2 separate regions of the Homo sapiens genome follow, and region 2 is linked to region 1. The links are contacts of gene promoters, found by promoter capture Hi-C in human tissues and cell types (Jung and others, 2019). All regions are on one chromosome and are shown on one strand. Each heading gives the region's core, a stretch centred on a gene start or on the middle of the fragment in contact. The rest is flanking DNA. Distances are from core to core; before and after follow the strand shown.

Region 1 (4,708 bases), core at 539-3,038:
AGGTTACAGTGACTATTAGTGACTAAGCTAGAGCTTCATGCTATGTCAATTTAAAAGCTGCTTTCTTCAGACATACTCGGTTCATTTGATCAATATCCATTTATTCAACGTCTACTATGTTTAACATACTGCGTATTCCCTGATGAAAATAATCTTACAATCTAGGACTAGAGAGTAATTTAAAACTGCAAGAAGGAAGTCAGAGCATAAAAAGTGAAGGTGAGAGAAGCTGAAATGAGGATGAAGAGGGAGAACTGAACACCCGGATCACTGCATGCCATGTTTCATTTCGTATTTTTCTCCACTCAAATGCAATAGGCAGCTAACTCCTTCCTGGCTAGTTTAAACAATTCTGTGGTATCTATAGCCCAGTCCAAGTCATTTGGGATATACTAATATTCAGCCAACATTTCCTGGGCACTGCCACGCAAACTTGGGAAACGGCACTACAGGCAAGGTGAGAACAGCCAATGCAAACACTTTTTTTTTTTCTCCTTTGTCACTAGTAGTTCTAATTAGAAACGAATGTGGCGGGGGTCGGGGGTAAGTATGCACAATAAAGCTGATGTCTAAAGTACTGTTTCCAGATATTCAGCAATTTTAATCATGGTTATAATCGCCATTGCTCTTGTCAGATATTGAAAGTTTGCTGCCACTGCCTGTAAATGGAGAGAGAGCGCGCGCAAAGAACTTTAACCATTCCCCGAAGGATTAGCAACTCAGTACCGTATATTGTTAGCAGTCAAACTAAACCCCTCCGGGAAGCCTGGCCAGCAATTTTTTTTTCTTTTTTTGTTTTTTTTTTTTTTTAGGCAGGGTCTCACTCAGTCGCCCAGGATGGAGTGCAATGGCGCGATCTCGGCTTACCGCAACCTTCACCTCCCGGCCTCAAGCGATTCTCCCACCTCAGCCTCCCGAGTAGCTGGGACTACAGGCGCGGGCCACCATGCTCCACTATTTATTTTATTTTATTTTATTTTTGTGGAGACGTGGGTCTCGCTATGTACTCAGGCTGGTCTGGAACTCCTGGGCTCAAGTGATCCTCCTGCCTTGGGCTCCCAAAGCGCTGAGATTACAGGCGTGAGCCACCGCGCCCGGCCTAGCCAGCAATTTTTAATACGACTTAGGCTTGAATCTTGAACTCACTAAAAGCCCCCAGCTTGGGAAAACACCTGGGGTTTCCATGGGAGTGAGGTAAAGGGCGGCTGTGAAAGAACAAAGGCTGTGCGTCCGCGTTCAGAGCCGCTGGGTCCGCCGGGCTCGCTGGGGGCCGGGGCCGCGGTGTCCTGGGTGGCGGGGCTCCGGGAATGTGACTCAGCCACCGCGGCCCCGCGATCCGCTCCCGGGCCAGCGCCTCAGTCGGTGCCGAGGAGGGCGGCGCCGAGACGGGCGCGTCAGCCTGGGAGGAGCGGGAAAAGGGTCGCAGCGCCTGAGGCCCGGCCGCCGCCCGAGTGGATGAGCGAGCGAGCGACTTGTGAAACACGCCGCGGCCCGGTCACCAACCAGGACCGGGATCACGTGGCTCCCAGGGCTGGGTGAAGAAGCCGCCCGGACCGAGCGCGCCGGAGAGGAGGGGCGCCTGGGGACAGAAGGCGACGTCCCCTGAAGTTTGTGTCAGCCAGGGCCCGCCCCCTCGCGCTTATGTAATAGGGGCGCGCTGCCATTGGCCCGCGCGACCAGCCAGGGCGCAGGCGTGCGAGCGGGGTGGGGGCCAGAAGGAGGCAGCCGCAGAAAGGCACATGGGCGGGGCTGCGAGGAGCAGGCGGGGCGGGGGCGCCGAGGAGAGCGGCGCGGCGTGCGCGGGCACGAGGCGTAGTGGTCTCCCCTAAGGCTGAGGCGGCGGCGGGCGCGCGGCGGCGGCGGGCGTGCGAGGCTGTTGTGCTCCCGGCTCTCGTGTTTCCCCTCCTGAGCGGGTGGAGGAGGCCCAAGCGGTGCTGGGCGCGCTCCCCCTTCCTTTCCCTCCGGCGTCCTCTCCCGGCCCTCTCGCGCTGCACTGTCTCTCCGACGCAAGACTGTCCCGGCCCGGGTGAGCGGCAGCGGGGGCGGTGCTGACGCCGCGGGACGCCCGGGAAACGGGGCGGGGGCCGGCCAGCGGGGGGCGGTGGGGACCGTGGGACTCGCCGCGGGTCGCGAGGGGTCGCGGGGGGCGGCAGGGCCCGGCCCGGGGCGGGCCGCGGGAAGGGGATGAGTTCGGGCGCCTGCCAGGCCCTGCAGGTGGCCGGGTCGCAGGCCAGCCGCGGAAGCGGAGCGGTAACCTTACCCCCGGCGACAGCCGCCGGTCAGCTGCCAGAGTGTGGCGCTCCCGGTGGACGCAGGGGCCGGGTTTCGGGCAGTCTCGGCCTCCAGGAGGCGCGTCTTGGTCCAGGGTCCGTGAGGACTGGCTAGATGGGGGCTGCGTGGCCTTTGGTGGCAGGGAGGAGGAGGGGGTCTCCGAGGCGGGAGAGGCGGGTTTGGGAAGGAAGGTGCGCCAGGCTGAAGCTGGGGTCGGAGAAGTGTTGGGTGGAGACCTCACTGTGGGTGCGTTCCTCCTCTCCTCTCCCCAAAACGATGGTGTTAAAAGCTAGGGTCAGGATGTGGAGCGCTGCCTGGGCCTCTTCCTTTCCGATGGTTATGGAGAATGAGCCTACTTCCTGGACCCAAAATCCTTTTCTTCTGTTACTCATTTATGTTGGTTTTAAAAGGAGCTTTGGGGCAGAGCTTACTTGTTGCCTCCTACGAGAGCGCCTCATTTTAGAACTCGTTTCTTCCACTACTTCCCTCTTTGCAGCCCCCTCGGAAAACCACACTGAGAGTTGCATTAAAAACCAGCATGTAGGTATTTGTAAGTGACTTTTTCCCTCCAGTTTGTCGCATTTAATCAAGGAGCGGTTGTAGCTGCCTACGATTTTGTAGAAAATTGTGTTGGCTTGAGAGCAAGTCCTAAGTTGAGCTGTCCAAAAGCAGGTGGTTGGTTCGTTTGAATTTCTGCTTTCAGAAAGGAAATCGATGGGGCGTGTTGTCAGAAGTTAGGGGCCTACCTCATGCATTTAGCTTATTTTATTCCATTTCCTTTACCTGGTGTTAAGTTTTCTGTCTTCAGAATAAGAACAAGTGACTACTGTCTTTATTAAGTCTCTTCGGTCTTTTTGGTTGCTGTTTGGTGACAATGGAAAATGGGTTGAATCTATTGTGTAATGTTATATTTTAGGGAAAGTCCTAAGTGCAAAAGTTAAAAATAATTTTGTGTGTCTAATGACATTGCTTTGTACGAGTCACAACATGGAAATATCAAAATAGCTAGTAACTTCTAGAAAGCAAAGGAACTTCTGAAATTAGTGGCTTACCATTTTTGAAGATTTTTTTTAACATAAAACAAGATTTCCCACAAAATCAGTGTATTAAGATACATAAAATACATTGTGTCGAAGAGTTAAGATGTGTGAGAAGACTGGCTATTTTGTTACAAGGTCCTGATAGTAAGACATTGAGACAAAAAACCTTGCAAAACATTGGTATACATAAAGGCTGATCACGTGACTACTGTCGTCCAAATAATACATAAGTATCCAAACCTGTTTCCATGGGAATAGGTTTGTAAGCTTGCGGTAACATCGGACTTAAATACACTTTTAAAAAAAATGTGCCATTTGGCTTAGAATTAATAATTTTTTTTAAAGCAAAAATGGAAGCTTAGTCTTCAAGGACTGATAACAGCTGGTAATATTTACCATTGTTTGGTGGGAATGGGGTTCTCATATTAGGCTAGCACGCTAAACATTTTCAATTACGAAAATGTATTAGGCTCGTGTGCTACCCTAATATAAAAACCCCATATTTCCTCAGTTGAAATAGTCAGCTGACTATCCTGAAAAGCATTGACCCTCTTTTATATTTTATCTGACTTTCAGTTCATTTTTTTAATGCTAGTGGGAACTTCTCCAATCAGTGTATTTTTTTAGTTTCCTTTTTTGGGGAACAGGAGGAGCTCAGTAATTTTTATGAAATGCTTTGACCTCATATCCATTAACTAATTATGGTCCTAGTCAGAAGAAGCTAGCACCCTTCCCTGGTGAAGTTGATACAAATCCATTGTATGTTCCTGTCCTGCAATGATTTACATTCAGTTACAGTACTAGTCAAAACTATATATATATGAATTCTACTTAGGATCCAATTTTGATATATTTAAAAAGCAATTGAGACTCATGATAGACTTTATGAGCAGGTTTAACTTGTGTGGTCGAATAAAAGCCTTTAATTTAAATGGAAAAGTAAAAGTAACTTTTTTCAGTGACTTGATTTTTTTTTTTGTTTTAATCCATTTGGGTTCACGTCAGATCATCGGTAACAAAAAGTGGTATCTTTCAGCTTTGTAAAAGAACCCTCTTAACCAAGTTCATTCCCTCAAATGGGAACTAACGTCTAGAGAGCAAAGAAACTTCTGGAATTAGTGGCTTGCTGATAATCTCATTTTATAATTTGTTCAGCAATCCAGCAAGACCAACTTTTTAAAAAAATTAATAACAGTAGTTTTATGAAAACTAAGTAAGAAAACAGTTTCCACCTATTTCTGAGGTCTCCTTTAGAAGGAGTAACAGACAGCTTTTATTTCTCTTAAAGTTATAAAAATCACAATCGCAAGTCACAATGAATACTGGGAAGGGAAATTACTTTTGCAGAGTGATCAAGTAAATGATAGCGGGGGCTAAACTTTTTTAGTAAACTTGTG
Region 2 (5,010 bases), core at 1,875-4,374, 340 kb after region 1:
CTAATTTCCTTAATTCCACTGTCTGAAGCCCAGTCTGTAGAGCTTCCTGAATATGCTGGCAAAATGAAGGTTTGTGGCTCAAAATTCTTGGCTACTCATCTCAGTTATGCATTCCCTGTATAGACAGGATACGCGGGGCTGGAGATGCCTTCGGAAGTGGCCGAGATGGGACTGTTGCAGGAGAGGGAAGATGAGGGCCTTGAGGAATCGAACCTGCACTCCCTCATTCTGGATGTTCCCAAAGCACAGCAGAGGCCCTGGCTTGATGTTGGCCTCCTTTCTGGCTGGTAAATTGACGTGGCCCCAGGACAGGTAGGGCTCATGACTGACTTGGCAATGAGTGACTTCCCCTCTTTCCTTCTTGCAGGGTCCTCTTGCAGGCACCTGCTAAACCCACAGTGCCTCCTGGCTCTCTCTTCTCTTCTTTCCTTTCCCCTGCGGCCTCCCACCCCACCCCTGACACTCCCTATTCCCTGCAAATTCCATGCCCTAAGAATTCTCCTTCCCAACCCATATCTGTTCATATTCGGAATTAATGAGCATTTACTCGACACTGTGCCAGCCAATGAGCTAAACGGTCACTGAGATTTTGTGCCAACTAGAAGGGCAAGATTATGTGCCAGGCTCTAGTGCCAGACTGCCTGGGCTTGAATCCTGGCTAGGGATGGGAATAATAGTAGCAACAATAATGGTTCCTACCTCATAGGATTGTTATGAAAGATAATACATGCGAAGCAGTTAGAATAGCACCAGGAACTCAAGTAAGTGCCCAGGAAGTCATTATTCATGGATGGACATAACATGCCTCAAGTGGGAAGACACATGGGCATCCCAAGGAGGCTAATGATTGCTGACCTTTCAAACCAATATTACTAAATGTCTGTTCAAAGTTTATTTAGAACAGTGGTCCTCAAACTTTGGCATGCATCGGAATCACCTACTTTTGCAATTAAAAGTAATTACAAAAACCGCAATTTCCTTTGTGGAGAATCACTTGAACCCGTGAGGTGGAGGTTGTAGTGAGCTGAGATCTTGCCACTGCACCCCAGCCTGGGTGACAGAGCGGGACCCTGTCCCAAAATAAATACATAAATAAATAAAAAGAGATGAAGCTCCCCAAATGATCCCCATGGAGCCAAGGTTAGGAACCAAGATTCTGAGGGTGAGCGCTCTGGAGAAGGGGGCTGGGGGTGGGGGTTGGGGAGGGGAGGAAGGAGGCAGTGGCAGTGCTCCTCCCTGCTCTCCTTTCTGCAGGAATGAGTCCCCAGGTCGAAGCCACCCACCTGCCTCACCATGTGGGTTTAGGACCATCTTTGTCTCTGAAAGCAGCTCTAGAAGATGGGTTCCTGCCCCCAGTGCAGAAGCTCATGGAGACTGTGACATGACAGCTGGTGGGCTTCGTCCCTCCAGGAGTTCATTCCCCATCTCATTAACCTCTCAATGCCATTCCAGCCCTTCTCATGGATTGGCTTCCATAGAAATCAGAATAAAAATCCAAACTCACTAGAGGACCTACAAAACCCCTGCAATTCTCCAACCAGTTTCCTGGCCCTGTTCTCAGGGGTGTCCACCCTCCGGCTTGAGCCCTAAGCTCAGCCCATTCCTGCCACAGGGCCTTGGTCCTTCCCATCCACCCTGCTCTGCTCTCAGGTCTTTTTTTTCTTTCTTTCTTTTTTTTTTTTTTTTTTTTTTTTTGAGACAGGGTCTCTCTGTTGCCCAGGCTGGAGTGCAGTGGCGTTGATCTCAGCTCACCAGCTCACTGCAGCCTCAACCTCCTGGGCTCCCCCTTCAGCCTCCTGAGAAGCTGGGACTACAGGCATGTGCCACCACACCTGGCTAGTTTTTGTATTTTTTTGAAGAGATGGGGTCTCACCATGCTGCCCAGGCTGGTCTCAAACTCTTGAGCTCAAGTGATCTTCCTGCTTCGGCCTCCCAAAGTGCTGGCATTAGAGGCATGAGCCACCAAGCCCGGCCTTGCTCCCAGATCTTTCAGGGGCTTGCACGTTCTCCTCACTCATGACTCAGATCAAATCCACATCCCAGAGAAGCCTCCCCTGACCACTCTTGGGGGCTTTTTTCTCTTCCTCTTCCTCTCCCTCTCCTGTCCTATTGCTCTATCTCGTTTTCTTCATTGCACTTGCCACGATCTGAAATTATTATGTTTATACATTTATCACTTCTCTCCCCCAACAGCCGTGTAAGCTTCCTGAAGGCAGGGATTTTGTCTGTCAACAGACACAGCTGCATCCTCAATGCTTGAAAACTGAAGTACCACATGCTCGTGTTGAGTGAATGAGGGAGGTCAGACCTTGGCTCTTAATCTCTCTCTCTCCCTCCATCATCTACTGAGTCTGTGACTCAGGGTCAGTCACTTCAGCCTCTCTGAGCCTCAATTTTCCCATCTGTCAGTGGGAGAAATTTAGACCCTCCCAGGCTTCTTCCAGAGCTGCTAGCATGGTCCAATTGATTTTTGATGGACTTCAGCTGAAGCGTGCTCTTTAATGTGAAGGCTACTATCCTTGTGTCTGCAAAAGGGCCTTAACTTGTGAAGTGGCTTACATGTCCGATAGCAGGTCTAGTGAAGGTGGATATTCCAAAGAGATTGAGTGCTTCCAGGTCTTCAAATACTGTCCCCTAGGACACTGCCATCTCCAGTTACACAGAGCCAGCCAGTGGGCCACCTTCCAGCAGAGGCTGTATCAGCCAAGACAAGGGTGCTGTGATTTCTTTGGGGCCACCTGGTGAAATCTACACCAGCTGAACTGAGAGCAGAGGTGTGGCGGGGAAGGAGGTGCTCCCCTCCAACCTTCTGCCAGCCTCCAGCTGTGTGCCTTTGTCCCACCATGCACGTTCACACCGAGATGATGCTCCCCCAGGGCTGCTCCCAGCCACAACTGACAGGACAGAGACTGCGAGCTGGGTGTTTCTGTTCGAGGTGGGCAGCCTTTGCCTGGGGATTCCTAGTTGTCTGCGGAGGCTCCCTCAGAATGGCCCTGAATTCTGAGATTCTTCCTGTCCTATACTCCCCTTCCTAATCACCATTCACAGATGTCAGATCTGCACTGCGGCCAGAAGCCTCTCCCTGCCTCCTCCCAATTCCTCCCCTGCATCCTTGATGGGCACTTCCCTCCATATGTCTCTGGAACATCTAATCCCATTTTGGTATCTGCTTCGCAGAAGACTTAAACTGGCACGGAGGGGTTGAAAACAACTCTGATGGCCCCCTGTGGCCATAGTCTCCTGGTTCTGATTCAGGCCCTGTAACAGCTTGCAACATATACAATTTTAATAGGGGCATCATCGATTAGGAAACACCCTGTCTCCTCCTTCTTTAATGCAGTCTGGAGCAAGCTTGACTATAGGAATAGATATTGCTCTCCCAGATCAGAGCTGAGGGAGGCGGCCCACGGCCCTTGGTAGAGAAGTGTCATGGAAATCACAGAAACACATATTCTGGGAAGTCCCCCCTTTTCTAGAATCCACAGTGAACATATGCATCATTGTCTTCAAAGCCAGCTCATCCTTCAAGGAATGAGGAACTTGGCAGAGAGAATTGGAAATTACGACAAACTTGCCAAGTCGAACTAATCAATAATAGGATGCAAGAGGAAGTCAGGGAGGAGGAAGTAGCAATGCACTTAGAAGGAAAATGTGCCCAGTGGACAAGCTCCAGGACCCATTCCCGCTCATCATGTGAAAGTATTCATAAGTACCTAAGTGCAGAAAGTACTGCTCAGGGTGTTTGTCCAGAGCAAGTGAGAGACAAGACCACAGGACTTCACAGCAAGGGGCCTGGGAGCACATCTTCTAGTCCAATGGGTTTCAAATAGTTCCCCTCGAGTAACAGCAGGGATTTCCTGGAAGGAGAAGCAGGAGTCCCTAAGATGGGTCTCATTGCCCTCCCACCCTTCAACCAAGAAACACCTGCACCATGAAGGTTCTGTCTCTCAAACCCAAATCTGGAAACCACTGACCTAGTCTCATTCTTTCCTTTTATCCACAGAAAAACAGAAGTCTAGAGAGGTGGTGTGACTGGCTTTGAAGTGACACCACGAGTTAACCGCAAAGGTGGAAGGATTAGAGCCCTTGGCCCTAGTCCTGTTCTCTTTCAACCTCACAATCATGCCACCCCCTCAAGGACTTGGCTTCCCCAAAGTCACACAGCAGGAAAATGGCAGACTTGGACTTTGAACCCAAACCTTTGGACTCCTCCACATCCTTTGCTATTTCTGGTTTCCATTGCTTTGTTTTCTCTGTAGTGCCAAACACAGGACTGGGCAGATAGATGACAAATACTTTGGGAAATGCAATAAACTGACCGCAGTTCAAATAAATTGCAAGCACTGCAACATTGTTCTTCACTAAGTGCACATTGATCCAGCCAGGGAGCTTTTAAAAAGGAAATATTCATCCCCAGGCTCCAATGCACCACTTATACCAGAATCTCAGGGCAGGGCCTGGGCATCAGTATTTTTTAAAGTTCCCCAGGTGATTCTAGGGTGTAGCCAGGACTATGAATCATTGAATAGGACTGTTTAACACACCTGGCCCATCCCTACGTTGGCATTCTCCAAAAGAGAGTTTGAATGACACACCATCTGTGTAATCCACAGGCCCTTCTGTGCTCGCCTCAGCAGCAGGCAGGTCTCTCCCTCCCTCTCTCTCCCTCTGCCATATTGCCTCTTGATTTGGTCTTTATACTCATGGTGGTGACTAATTAATCCTCCTAGAACAATCAAAGAAGACCTAATTGTGGGTGAGCCATCTGGAGCTCCTCCTTGGTTGACTTGGACTTTAGGGAGGATGAGGAGAAGAAAGTGGGAAATGACTCACACTCCAGATGAAACACAAAATTGTATCTGTTCACAGACGGTTGTGGTGCTTGCGGCTGTAACTTTTCCTCCTGCTTCTCAATGGTTCCAGATGGTGCATTTTCTCTTTCTATACCTGCATGTCCATACTCACCCCCATAGACAGTGAGGCATGAATTCTCCAGGCTGCTCCTATTCC

What was found. The method cuts DNA at HindIII sites, captures the fragments that hold promoters and counts their contacts. A contact is called where the count stands out against the background at its distance.
Region 2: a fragment that was not itself captured here is called in contact with the fragment with the promoter of ZNF706 in region 1 in 2 of the 25 tissues and cell types used here (dorsolateral prefrontal cortex and hippocampus).

Annotation. Positions count from the first base shown.
Region 1 is chr8:101,202,753-101,207,460 of GRCh38, reverse strand. It overlaps ZNF706 (zinc finger protein 706), which reads left to right and starts at 1,788. Exons shown (of 4, transcript NM_016096.5): 1 at 1,788-2,026. RefSeq lists silencers at 1,224-1,443, 1,654-2,253. The HindIII fragment of the contact is 7,281 bases long and covers 1-4,708 here.
Region 2 is chr8:100,868,343-100,873,352 of GRCh38, reverse strand. No RefSeq gene overlaps it. Among named protein-coding and RNA genes, the nearest start is that of YWHAZ, 81 kb to the left of the region's middle. RefSeq lists an enhancer at 3,469-4,668. The HindIII fragment of the contact is 4,224 bases long and covers 1,013-5,010 here.